3 separate regions of the Homo sapiens genome follow, and regions 2 and 3 are each linked to region 1. The links are contacts of gene promoters, found by promoter capture Hi-C in blood cells and fetal thymus (Javierre and others, 2016). All regions are on one chromosome and are shown on one strand. The core of a region is centred on a gene start or on the middle of the fragment in contact, and the rest is flanking DNA. Distances in the headings are between cores, read along the strand shown. Region 1 holds the start of ABHD17B (abhydrolase domain containing 17B, depalmitoylase). Region 2 holds the start of C9orf40 (chromosome 9 open reading frame 40). Region 3 holds the start of CARNMT1 (carnosine N-methyltransferase 1).

What was found. Contacts are between HindIII fragments. The CHiCAGO score rates a contact against its expected background, and 5 or more counts as called.
Region 2: a contact is called between the fragment with the promoter of C9orf40 here and the fragment with the promoter of ABHD17B in region 1, in 1 of 17 cell types (activated CD4 T cells). The highest score is 7.0, in activated CD4 T cells.
Region 3: a contact is called between a fragment that was not itself captured here and the fragment with the promoter of ABHD17B in region 1, in 1 of 17 cell types (total B cells). The highest score is 8.5, in total B cells.

The regions. Positions count from the first base shown.
Region 1 is chr9:71,908,947-71,912,708 of GRCh38, reverse strand. It overlaps ABHD17B (abhydrolase domain containing 17B, depalmitoylase), which reads left to right and starts at 1,516. Exons shown (of 4, transcript NM_001025780.3): 1 at 1,516-2,075. C9orf85 (chromosome 9 open reading frame 85) reads right to left here and starts at 1,070. Exons shown (of 4, transcript NM_182505.5): 1 at 873-1,070. The coding sequence starts at 974. RefSeq lists enhancers at 803-862, 873-922, 993-1,302 and a silencer at 1,753-1,992. The HindIII fragment of the contact is 4,051 bases long and covers 1-2,522 here.
Region 2 is chr9:74,951,592-74,955,288 of GRCh38, reverse strand. C9orf40 (chromosome 9 open reading frame 40) reads left to right here and starts at 2,377. Exons shown (of 2, transcript NM_017998.3): 1 at 2,377-3,103. The coding sequence starts at 2,678. It overlaps CARNMT1-AS1 (CARNMT1 antisense RNA 1), which reads right to left and starts at 2,324. Exons shown (of 5, transcript NR_121183.1): 1 at 2,172-2,324. RefSeq lists silencers at 2,396-2,605, 2,876-3,085 and an enhancer at 3,416-3,485. The HindIII fragment of the contact is 1,820 bases long and covers 1,816-3,635 here.
Region 3 is chr9:75,024,958-75,028,699 of GRCh38, reverse strand. CARNMT1 (carnosine N-methyltransferase 1) reads left to right here and starts at 407. Exons shown (of 8, transcript NM_152420.3): 1 at 407-688. The coding sequence starts at 459. RefSeq lists a silencer at 186-875 and an enhancer at 1,526-1,575. The HindIII fragment of the contact is 836 bases long and covers 1,954-2,789 here.

The sequences.
Region 1 (3,762 bases), core at 267-2,766:
TTCGCCATGTTGGCCAGGTCGTTCTCGAACTTCTGACCTCAGGTGATCCGCCCACCACCTCGGCCTCCCAAAGTGCTGAGATTACAAGCGCCCGCCACCACGCCCGGCTAATTTTTGTATTTTTAGTACAGATGGAGTTTCGCCATGTTGACCAGGTCGTTCTCGAACTCCTGACCTCAGGTGATCCACCCGCTTCGGCCTCCCAAAGTGCTGGGATTACAGCACTTTGAGCCACGGCGCCCGGCCTGCAAATTAGTACTTATATACAACCCAAGTCCTCTGGCTATCTAGACAGTCTGAATTTTTTAGCAGGACTTTACAGAAGTCCTGCTAAAGATAAACAGCAAAACAAGTATTTTTACATTAACCAAATATTTTTATCTTCAAAACAATTGTTACAAAACAGAAATTTCACACAATACTAGTGAGGACAGCCTAAGACAGCTTAATCATTCACATTTCCTCTATGGGCTTGGGGTTTTTGGAAAAAAAAATCGTAGCTGCATAAACTTGGTGTAAAATTTGAAAAAGCCACTCATGCCACAATCCTCGTTTCCCTCTGCTAATGTGATCCAGATGGGAACGCTGAACGACGTAACTGCCCCATCTGCACCTTAGATTTCATTAGGGTCCTGTTCACTCTGTGCAATTAGTTAAGTGTGCTGACCATCAAATATTTACCAGGAGACAACATGTCCAGGTCAAAGAAAGGGCGTGAGAATAACATTTTAGAAAGAGTTGCACTGCAGCCAAGACTAACTCTGGGCTGCGGTCCACACTCGCCCCAGCCGACTCCTCTCATTTCCTCTCTCCCCTCTCCAGTGAGCCATTCCTTCCTGGAGTCAAAGACGGTGCAACAGGCAGGTTCCTACCTTGGTCTGCACACTTTTATCGAACTTGTCATTTTTGAAGCTAAACGTATTCTGGTGCTTCTGAGGTCTGGAACGAGCCACGTTGCCTTTCTGGGAGCTCATCGCCGAAATCAAAGCCACCCCTCGCCGGGAGCAGGCAAAAGGATGAGGGGAAAGAAAACCAACGAACTACTCCCAGGAATTGACGCTTCTGTCAATGACCCGGAAGAAACAAACGCAGCCTTTCCGCCCCGGCTCTGGGTCAGCCCACGTGACTCTTCTGGGAGGTCAAAGAGCATCGCTCTGCCCTCCCTGCTGTTAAGCCAAGCCACTCCACGCGGCGCAGCCTCGACCCCTCCGGCTCCGCGCAGCCTCTTTCTCAAACCCGGAGAACAAGTCCCACTTTCTTCGAAATGAGAATTCCCCCATTGGCCCGAATGTGTAGTCCATCAAATCAAAGGGGCGGGGAACCTTTGTTCCTATTGGTTCTTCTTTTCCGCAATCCCCGCCTCCTGCTGAGCGAGCTCAGCCTCTCCTTGAGCTCAGAGCGCCTCCCACCCTGCCGGGCGGCCTCTGATTGGTGGAAGTGAGGCAAGGCTGGGCTCCGTCTCTCCCCCCGCCCGCTAGTAGGCTGGAGCCGGGGTCAGCTTTGGCACCTTCCTCCAGTCAGTGGCCAACTCCTGGCTCAGTGGGGATTGTGCTCGTCCCCTCCGTTCCCCTCCAGTCTTCCTCCCGCTACCGGAACGAGCCTCGCGCTTGGCAGGCTGAGGAGGAGCAAAGAAAGCAGGATTAAAGAGAAGGAAGACCTGGCTAGGTCTGGGTGGCGTCTGCAGTGCCAGAAAGGGAGGCGGTGGCGGCGGCGGCTGCGACCACGGCCGCGCGGGACGTGAGGCCCGAGAGCAACCGACGGGCAGCGGCGGCCGCTCCAGCGCCCCGCACCGGGGCCGTTAGTCAGCAGAACGCGAGCTCTTGTGGAGGAGCAGGGCCGGCGCGAGGCGAGACTCGGGAGCGTGAGCGGGGCCCCTGGGGCGCCGCCGTCCTTCTTCGCCCCGGCGCCGGGGGCTGTAGCCCTGGTCCCCGCTCCTCTGTCGGGCCAGTCTGCAGGCGGAGAGAGTCGGACGGCGCCCGGAGCGCGGATCTCGCCTTGTGGAGGACAGCGCGTCGGCTGCGGTTCTCTCTCGACCCCTTCTGCCCGGCGCTTCGGCCCGGGCCGCTCAGGTGCAGGTGCGTGCGGCCTCGGGGTTTGGGGACGCCGCAGCCCGGCTCGGGGAGGGGGCGCTAGGCCGGGAGCCGCAGCGCGGGAGGGACGAGCCCGGGCCGGCGGGGGGAGGGGAGCGGGAAGCGTCTTTGTTGTTGGCGACCGGGATCCCTTCTCGGCACAGGGGAAAGGCGGGGAAGCCACTCCTCATCGGGTCTGTGTTTTTGAGAGGATTCTCTGATGGTTGCGTGAAGGGGAGCGGTAGGACAGTCCCTGCGGTCCGTGGAGCGGCCGGAGTCAGGGGGTGGGGGAGGGAGGACCGACCGACACTCTAAGAAGGTCTTTGGTCCTCCTCGGTGAAGAGAAGGGTTCCATTTCATTTCCTTTGCTTTTCTCTCAGTGGATGAAAAGATGGGGTCAGGTTCCCATTCCCCTCACTGGCGCACTGAGAGATTCGCGGGTGCCTAAAAGCTTTCTCCTGAATGTCCTTATATCTCTGTCGGGCGCGATTTTAGATTGAATCTGCACGGGGCTTGGCGATTTGTGTATTCCGGTGGGGCTGTCGTAGGGTTCTTTTTCTTTAGATGGTTGGGCTTTAATCTTATTTGTTTTCGAACTCTAAGGTAGGCTTATCAGGAATCGTTTTTGAATTGGAAAATTTAAAGGTTTTGTTTGGGATTTTTTTTAACCCCGAAACAAAGTTATGTCAAATTAGATTGTACTGTGTGGGGGCTCTCGTGAAGGAAAGAGTGTATTTAACCTGGGGTTTTTGTTTAAAAAAAAAAAAAGTTCAGATCTTTGATCTTTGGTGAGATCTCTGCCAATGCCAGAAGAGAATTTTTTGTAAATGATGCTTTAAGTCAGTGTGAAGTAGATTTGGTAAGCAAAAGGATGAATAACGGAATACAGAGGGTGACCTTTAAATTTCGCTGTTTATGAAATGTGTTCCTGTTTAATACTTTTTGTGATATATGATGCTTGATCTATAGATGATTCATTTGGAATTTTTTTATGCCTCTAATAAATCTTTGGAGATCTTGTGCCAACATATGAAACTATAATACCTAATGAGTCGGAGTAGAAAGCCAGATACATGTTGTAATAACGTTAATCTGTTTAGATTAACAGGGAAATTTACATTAAAATGAACTTTTTTCCGTAAAGAGTTTCTCTACATATGTTTATAGCATGAATTTCAGTTGGGTGACATCTAATGATAGCCAGTATTTTGAAAATTGTCATGATTGCTAGTATTCTAATTTGAGACTGCTCAACTTGTTGGTAAGTTTTTATTTGGAGAATAGGGGTCGTGTTACTTAAGGAACAGCAGAGGTAAAAATCTCTGTTGTGCAGTAATTGTCATATCATTTGAAATCCAGAAGGAAATGAATGGCACCTTCACCTATATTTTGACCTCTCTTTTCTCCTACTCTAGTGTTAATAAGGTTAATTGGCAAGGACAGGATTAGATTTTTAGCAGGCTAGGCAGTTTTAATTTTGTCCCTTAGTGTGCAGTATTCTAGTTGATGAGTAGCTTGTTTCCTTGAGTATCTTTGCCCATTTTGAAATGTTTATGAAATGACTGCTGACAAAGAATTTTCTGTTTCCTGGGACAAACAAAATCACCAAAAAACATCATGAAAAAATAATGTTTTTAGTAGCTTAATGAACACAGAAGAATTAAGCAATTAGTGTCTGTTCCAAGTTTGACAC
Region 2 (3,697 bases), core at 1,128-3,627, 3.0 Mb before region 1:
TGTACACCTGTAGTCTCAGCTACTCAGGAGGCTGAGGTGGGAGGACTGCTTGCCCCTGAGAGGTCAGGGCTGCAGTGAGCTGTAATCATATCACTGCTCTCCAGCCAGGGCAACAGAGCAAGCCCCGTTTCAAAAAAAAAAAAAAAAAAGTTATTTAGCAATATACATACAGACATACAAATGGAAGAGTTAAAAAGCAAAGGAATGATTAACTCAACATGTAAAACGGTAATTACCGGGAGTGAGGGAAAGGGAAGGGTATGTGCCAGTGGGGAAGGGACGCATAGGGAGCTTGTCATGTTCTAGTATAGGTAGTATTCTATTTCTGAAACAGAATGCTGTATGTCTTACTATCATTCTTTTAACTACATGTGTATTTTATACAACCTTTTGCATATATGATAAGTTTCACAATTTTGAAAAAATGAGCGTTTGTAAAGAGGAACACAAAAGAACCAACCATTAGCTAAACTTATTATTTTGGGGGTACTCAAAACCTTTCAAACAGCACTTGATGACTACGATTAAGATCTTTCCTGCTGATTTAAAAATGGCAAAACTCTTCCTCTGTTTGAGACAGACGGGTTTTCAATTTATTTTTTTTTTTTTGGAGACAGGGTCTCACACTGTCACCCAGGCTGGAAGTACAGTGGTGCAATCTTGGCCTCTGCCTCCAGGGTTCAAGCGATCCTCCCACCTCAGCCTCCCTGGGACTACAGGTGCAAGGCACCACCTCTGGCTAATTTTTGTATTTTCTGTAGAGATGGGGTTTCACCATGTTGGCCAGGCTGGTATGGAACTCCTGGGCTCAGGTGATCTGTGCACCTCATCTTCCCAAAAGTGCTGGGATTAAAGACGTGAGCCACCGCACCCGGCCGGTTACCAATTTCAAACAAGAAAAGTAAAAACCAAACAGAAAAGCTATTGCTTACTACCCTAACTTGGTACATTTCTGTGCTTGTTAATAACTAATAATTAACTTGTCCTCTCACAACCACCTTGAGATGCAGGGGTACAGGGTAAATTAGTACTGAGATAGTACCTAGCACTAAAATAGAATTATCTTTCTTGCACACTTTTTCTACAGAGGATGATAGTTTTTCCCTTCAAAGCACTGGTAATAGTCTTATTTTCTTCCTTCCATTTCTGCTTACTTGGTTACTGTCTTTATCAAACTATTAAAATAGTAAATACGACCAGATGCGGTGGCTCACACCTATAAACCAAGCACTTTGGGAGGCCCAGACAGGAGATCGCTTGAGCTCAGTGGGGCCCGGCTGCAGTGAGCCGTGATGGCACCACTGCACTCCCGCCTAGGTGGCCGAGAGAGACCCTGTCTCAAACAAAATAAAAAATAAAAATAATAAAATAGTAAATATACTGCAATTGTCTCCACCTCACTTCACCTGACAACACTATTTTGCTGTAATGGCCATAGAATCTTGATCTGACCACCGCCCATAGTAAGCAGGGAACTCAGCCTTCCAACATTAATTAAGAGCCCAACAATTTTAGGTTTCAGTTAGAAAGGACAGCTGCGCTTCAGGCTTGGTTCTTGCCAACTACTCAGCTATTTTGGATGAGCTGCACATTTTGTCTGTAACTTCCTCCATAAGTTTTTAATCAAGAGATCTTCCAGGAATGTAGGGCCTGCTTCACCTTCCACAGCAGCTGCGCAAAACATGCAAAACATACACTTCGATTTGTGTTTTCTGTTAGCTTTAGCTACTTCCCTCAGCCCAGACTCCCTTCAGTCTTTTGTTTTGAATAACAACCTACTGTGAAGCTTCTTAAACACTAGTTTTATTTAAAGCTTGTATTATCCTTTTCCTTTTTTTTTTTTTTTTTTTTGAGACGGCATCTCGCTCTGTTGCCCAGGCTGCAGTGTAGTGGTGCGATCTCTGGCTCACTACAGCCTCCACCTCCCAGGCTCAAGTGAATCTTCCTCCTCAGCCTCCCGAGTAGCTGGGACCACAGGGGCAGGCCAACAAGCCTGGCCTATTTTTGATTTTTTGTAGAGACGAGGTCTTGCTATGTTGCCCAGGATAGTCTGGAACTCTATTATAATCTTTGTCTTAATCTCATGGAGACGCCCCCGTGGTCACTGACTGGAGGAAGGAAATACACATTTTAAAGGTTTTAAATTTCCTATAGAAGGGTCTAGAACGTACCGCGCTATAACGAACATAGTAGTAAGACCACCGCCACACTCCTGAGGAAACAAGGTCACGCCCCTCTGCGGGCCGCTTGATCGGGTCTTTAATTAATCCCGCCGCGGCCTTCCCGCCTACCCCCGAGCGCGCACTTCCGGTCGCGAGGGCGCTCGGGAGCGCGCCCCGCGAGCCTCCACCAACCAGCGGCTCCGCCTGGCCAGACAGAGTGCGCGCGCGCACGTTGTGCGCAGGTTCGAATCTCCGCCGCTTCGCGGTTGCTTCTCAACGTCCGGGCCGCATCTCGGCGGCGGCGAGGGCTGAGCGCGGGAGCTGCCTCCGAGCCGGAGCCCCAGCCCTAGGCCCTGCGCGAGCTGCCCCGCCCTACCCCCTCCAGCGTCCTGTCGCCTCCTCGCCCGACTTCGGCCTGTCCCTCTCTCACGCGCTCAGTCCTCGCTCTTCGCCCCCCGCAGCTATCGGCACTCGGTCTCCCGCGCCTGGCGGGCTCCGCCCGAGCCTCTGGGCCCATGGCCAAGCGGCGTGCGGCCGAGCCGGTGACGTTCCACGTGCCTTGGAAGCGGCTCCTGCTTTGCGACTTCGCTGAGCAGCCGCCGCCACCGCCTCTCTGGATCCGGCCGCCCGGGGTCGCGCATGCTGGGCAGCTCCTCGGCGTCCCAGAGCAGCACCGAAAGCGCAAAATCGACGCAGGGACCATGGCAGAGCCCTCGGCTTCGCCCAGCAAGCGCCGTGACAGCGGGGACAACAGCGCCCCGAGCGGCCAGGAGCGTGAGGACCACGGTCTGGAGACAGGCGATCCGCCGCTGCCGCCGCCGCCCGTACTGCCGGGGCCGGGGGAGGAGCTCCCGGGCGCCCGGCTCCCGGGGGGCGGTGGCGACGACGGGGCGGGGCGCGCAGGACCCCCGCGGGGAGACTGGGGGGTCGCATCGCGCCAGGTAGGGGCTGGGGGCGGGTGGGCTGAGGGGCGAAGGGGCTTGCCTTTTCCCCACACACACAAAACGCCCCGGTTCCCACTCATGACTTGTGTAGGTTAAGACGCCTGAGGGGGTTGAAAGAAGGGGTCACCGCTCCGGGAGAGGACGCCGACCGCCAGAAGCACACCCCGAGAGTCCGATGGGCAGAAAGCACTGGGCTGGGCGAGGGGGAAACAGACCGTGGTCGGGAGCGATAGAAGTGGCCTTGCGGCGTCAGCGCCGCGCTCCGTAAAAGGGAAACGGGACCGTGGGTCGTGGCGGGCTGTGAGCATGGCGAGAACGCAGACCGTCAGGGCATAGGTTCAGCCCAAAGACAAACGACAGATAAAGGTGTAGAGGGCCTTCCTGGGTTTAACGATGATTAGTCTAGAATTCGGGATAGAGTTCTTTTTCTAGAGGGAGACCAGTGTGGTAGCCATTGATTAATTGAACGTCCTACCGGCTGGTACAGCTTCTGGAGAAAAGGATGGACCACCGTACCTTGGTCAAAGCTTTGTTTTAACTCATAGTGTTAAATCTGATCCTAGGCAAAAGTATCATTGAAAATTAATTTGG
Region 3 (3,742 bases), core at 1,122-3,621, 3.1 Mb before region 1:
TCTTTGCTAGTGCCTGGGACCGCGTTCAGCCTCCAGCTCAACAATCCGGCACTCGCCGGCTTTTAAGTCCCACCCACGCGGCCGCGCACAGGTAACGGCAGTGCCAGTCCCACCCCACCTACGAGCTCCTCCTCCGCCTCCCACCAAGGGGCCTTGGCCCCGCCCTTGGAAGCGTGGTTGTGACGTCAGCGCGCTGTCTCCGAAGCCCGGCAGCAAATGAGCGCAGACCGCACGGGCCCTCCGCGTACCAAGGCACACGCATGCGCATTGGTTCTGGGAGCCCTGAAGACCTGGCGGAGCCCAGCGCGGATGGAGGCCTGAGGGTGGCGGGGGCGGAGCGCGCCGCGAGCTGGGGGCATGTCCGCGGCGGGCGCCGTCTAGAGGAAGGCCAAGCAGCCGCCACCACGCTGTCGGTCGCGGAGAGACGCAAGCGAGCCAGGCCGAGGGCCGCGGCGGCGATGCAGCGACGGCGTCGCCCTCCGCCGCCCACCTCCCGGCTGCCCGAGGGCTGCGGGGGAGGAGGCGGTGGCAGCGAGGAGGTGGAAGTGCAGTTTTCCGCCGGGCGTTGGGGCTCGGCCGCGGCGGTTTCGGCGGCAGCGGCGGCGGCCACGCGCAGCACCGAGGAGGAGGAGGAGAGGCTTGAGCGTGAGCACTTCTGGAAGATCATTAATGCCTTCCGCTACTACGGGTAAGGAGCCCGTGGCGGACCCCGGCCCAGACCGTCGGGGCGCCCACTGGTGGCGGCGGACCCGCCGGAACGGGGGCGCTCGCCGTCCCGCCGCCACGCCTCCGAGGCGTCGGGACCCGGCTGCTGCAGCTGACCTCCGGGCCCCGAGTCACCTCGCACCACCCCAGCCCCTCCCGGCCCTGCACACCCGCGTGTCCGCCGCGCCGTCTGCTGCACAGCCTCGTGTCTTCTGACCTCAGGATCAGATTAGCTCTCCTGCCTCCGTCCTCGTAAAGGTTTGGCTTTGAGGCCGATGGGGGTGACCAGAGAAGCGCTGTAACAATTTCAGATAGAAGACGATGGTGGTACAATCGTCCACTGCTGGGCTGATTGGTGTGTGTGGTCGATGTCCTCCAAACTGAACACACGGAGAGCCCAAGTTCACCTACGCGTGGGATGCTGTAGGACGTATTTTCCCAAACTGTTACCAGTGCTTGTAAGAGCAGTTTAAGATTTCCACCCACCCCTCTTTGGCGCTGTGAACGCACTTGCACTTTTGTGTGAGCGATTGAATGATGCTGCTCAGTGTCTTTAACTGGTGGGTGATTAAGGGCGGAAGTGGTCCGGATATTCTAAAATTTGCTAATTATTAGGAGAGATGAGAGAAGTCACAATAAGAGCTGCCTTTACGTTCTTTTTTTCTGCAAATCTGTATCTAATTCTCCCTGGTGTGCTAGGCACTGTGGTAGGACCTTTATGCTCCTCATTCATAAAAACAGCTCCCTAACTTCCACGTTTCTTCTAGATAGATGTTAAAGTAGCTTAATCACAAAATTATAATTCCAAGAGCTGAAAGGGACTTAAATCAACTGGATTTTCAGGTGAAGATAACACTTTTATTCACGTAAGAGATATGAGTCCACCGGTGACTATGTTCTGAGGCTGCAGTTGGAATCAGACAGACATGACCTCCTACGCAGGTAAACCTGTTCCCATAGGTGGGTTCCTGCTGTGCTTTATGCAAAGTTTTTTTATATTGTTCATCTTATGTATTATAGTTGTTTTTATAAATCTCTTGCTTTGCTGTGACCTCCTCAAGGGCAGGGGCTGAGTCTTTTTTATTTTTATGTCACTAGTGCTTGGCATATGTTGTTTAAGCTCTATTTTTAACAAAACAAATAGTAGCAAAGAAATACATTTCTCATTCCCAAATAGTCTGTCAAGTTTTTGACTGATAGTTAAATTAGTTTACTAGTCTGAATTTAGAAGCTTGCTTAGTGAAAGCTTAAAGTTATTTGGAATCTGATTGTATATGTGATAGGAACTTTTGAACTTCGAAGATCTTGATGAAATAATTTACTGATTAAACCCAGAAATAGGGACCAGGGACAGCATTACTTTACGGAGCCCAAAAGAGAAGTTTGGATATTTTATTTCTCCAGGTTTAGTAGTAACAGAGGGAGCAAGGCGTCAGACCATCAGAGAATTGAATTTGATGCAGGAATTGTGACGGAAAGAACCATAAAGTTAGGAAAGGCAGCTAACATCAGATAGCTAAGAGTGGGAGATACAGAAAAGTCTGGTACATTTTGCTCTTGAAAAATCTAGAAAGAATATTGGGAAATGTCTTGGGAATATGGTGGACCCATTTAGTTAAGTGCGTAGTTGTACTTACTTTTAATATATTAGGACCAATTTAAAATTGATATTTATGGGTAAGTATGGGATGGGACTTTGTTGGGGTAGGGGTTGATCAGGAACTGAAGTGTGGCAATATAGAGAAGAGATCTTGTGTGAATATTCTAGTGGTTGTGATACTATTTCCTATACTCTCTTCTTTACCAGCGTAATGTTGGATTCAGGACATTTCATTTTTTAAAAAAAACAGTTTTTATTTGTATATACTCTCTTGAAACACTTCAAATACTTGGGCTGAAAATAGTATAACATCAAAAATATGCTTTTTAAAATGTCACTTAAAGCCTAGGGGTACAGAAAGTTTATGTAGCAGAGAACAGTGGATTGTTACATTCTAATATTTTGTGATCTTCTAGACTTAAACTGTAGCCACTAATCATATCTGGATAAATTTAAGCTAAAATTAATTAGTATTTAATAAGCTTTAAAATTTAGTTGCTCAGTTTCACTACCCATATTTCAGGTGCTCAATAGCTACATGTGGCTAGAGTCTGCTGTACTGGACAGTGCAAATAAAAGCTTTTCCATTATCGAAGTAGGTTGTGATGGACAATCCGGTTCTACACATTTAGCAAGTACAGTTGACCCTTAAACAATATGGATCTGAACTGCACGGGTCCACTTATACACAAATTTTTTGAAATAAACATATTGGAAAATTGTTTTGACATTTGCAACAATTTGAAAAACTTAGCAAACTTGCATAGCCTAGAAATAGTGAAAAAATTAAGAAAAAATTATGCCATGAATGCATATGTGTAGATACTAGTTTATCATTTACTACCATAAAATATACACAAATCTATTATAAAAAGTTAAAATTTATCAAAACTTACACAAACACAGATCTTACATGGAGCTATTTGCAATTGAGATAAATGTAAACAAGCAAAGATGTAGCATTAAATCTTAGTTGCATAAAATTATCTGTAGTAGATACTGTACTACTGTAATAATTTTGTAGCCACTTCCTGTTGCTTTTGCAGTAAGCTCAGATGTTACCAGTATCTTCTTAAAATAATCACTCTGCTTTTGTCTGTCAAGTAAATTGCATATAGCAGTAAACAGATTTCATCAAATTTAATGCAATACCATAAACCTTAAATAACACCATGGGTCCCATATGACGTGCCACTGGTGATGCTGCAGGTGCTCCCAAGAAGCAGAGAAAAAAGACATTACAAGAAAAAGTTGATTTGTTTGATATGTACTGTAGATAGAGGTCTGCAGTTGGAGGTTGCCCCCCAACCCCATTTCAGACAGAGGATTCATCTTGTAATCAAATTATGTAAACTTATAGTATTGATAAATGCAGTGCAGTAGTGTAAATGTATTTTCCCTTTCCTACGACTTTCTTAATATTTTCTTAGCTTTATT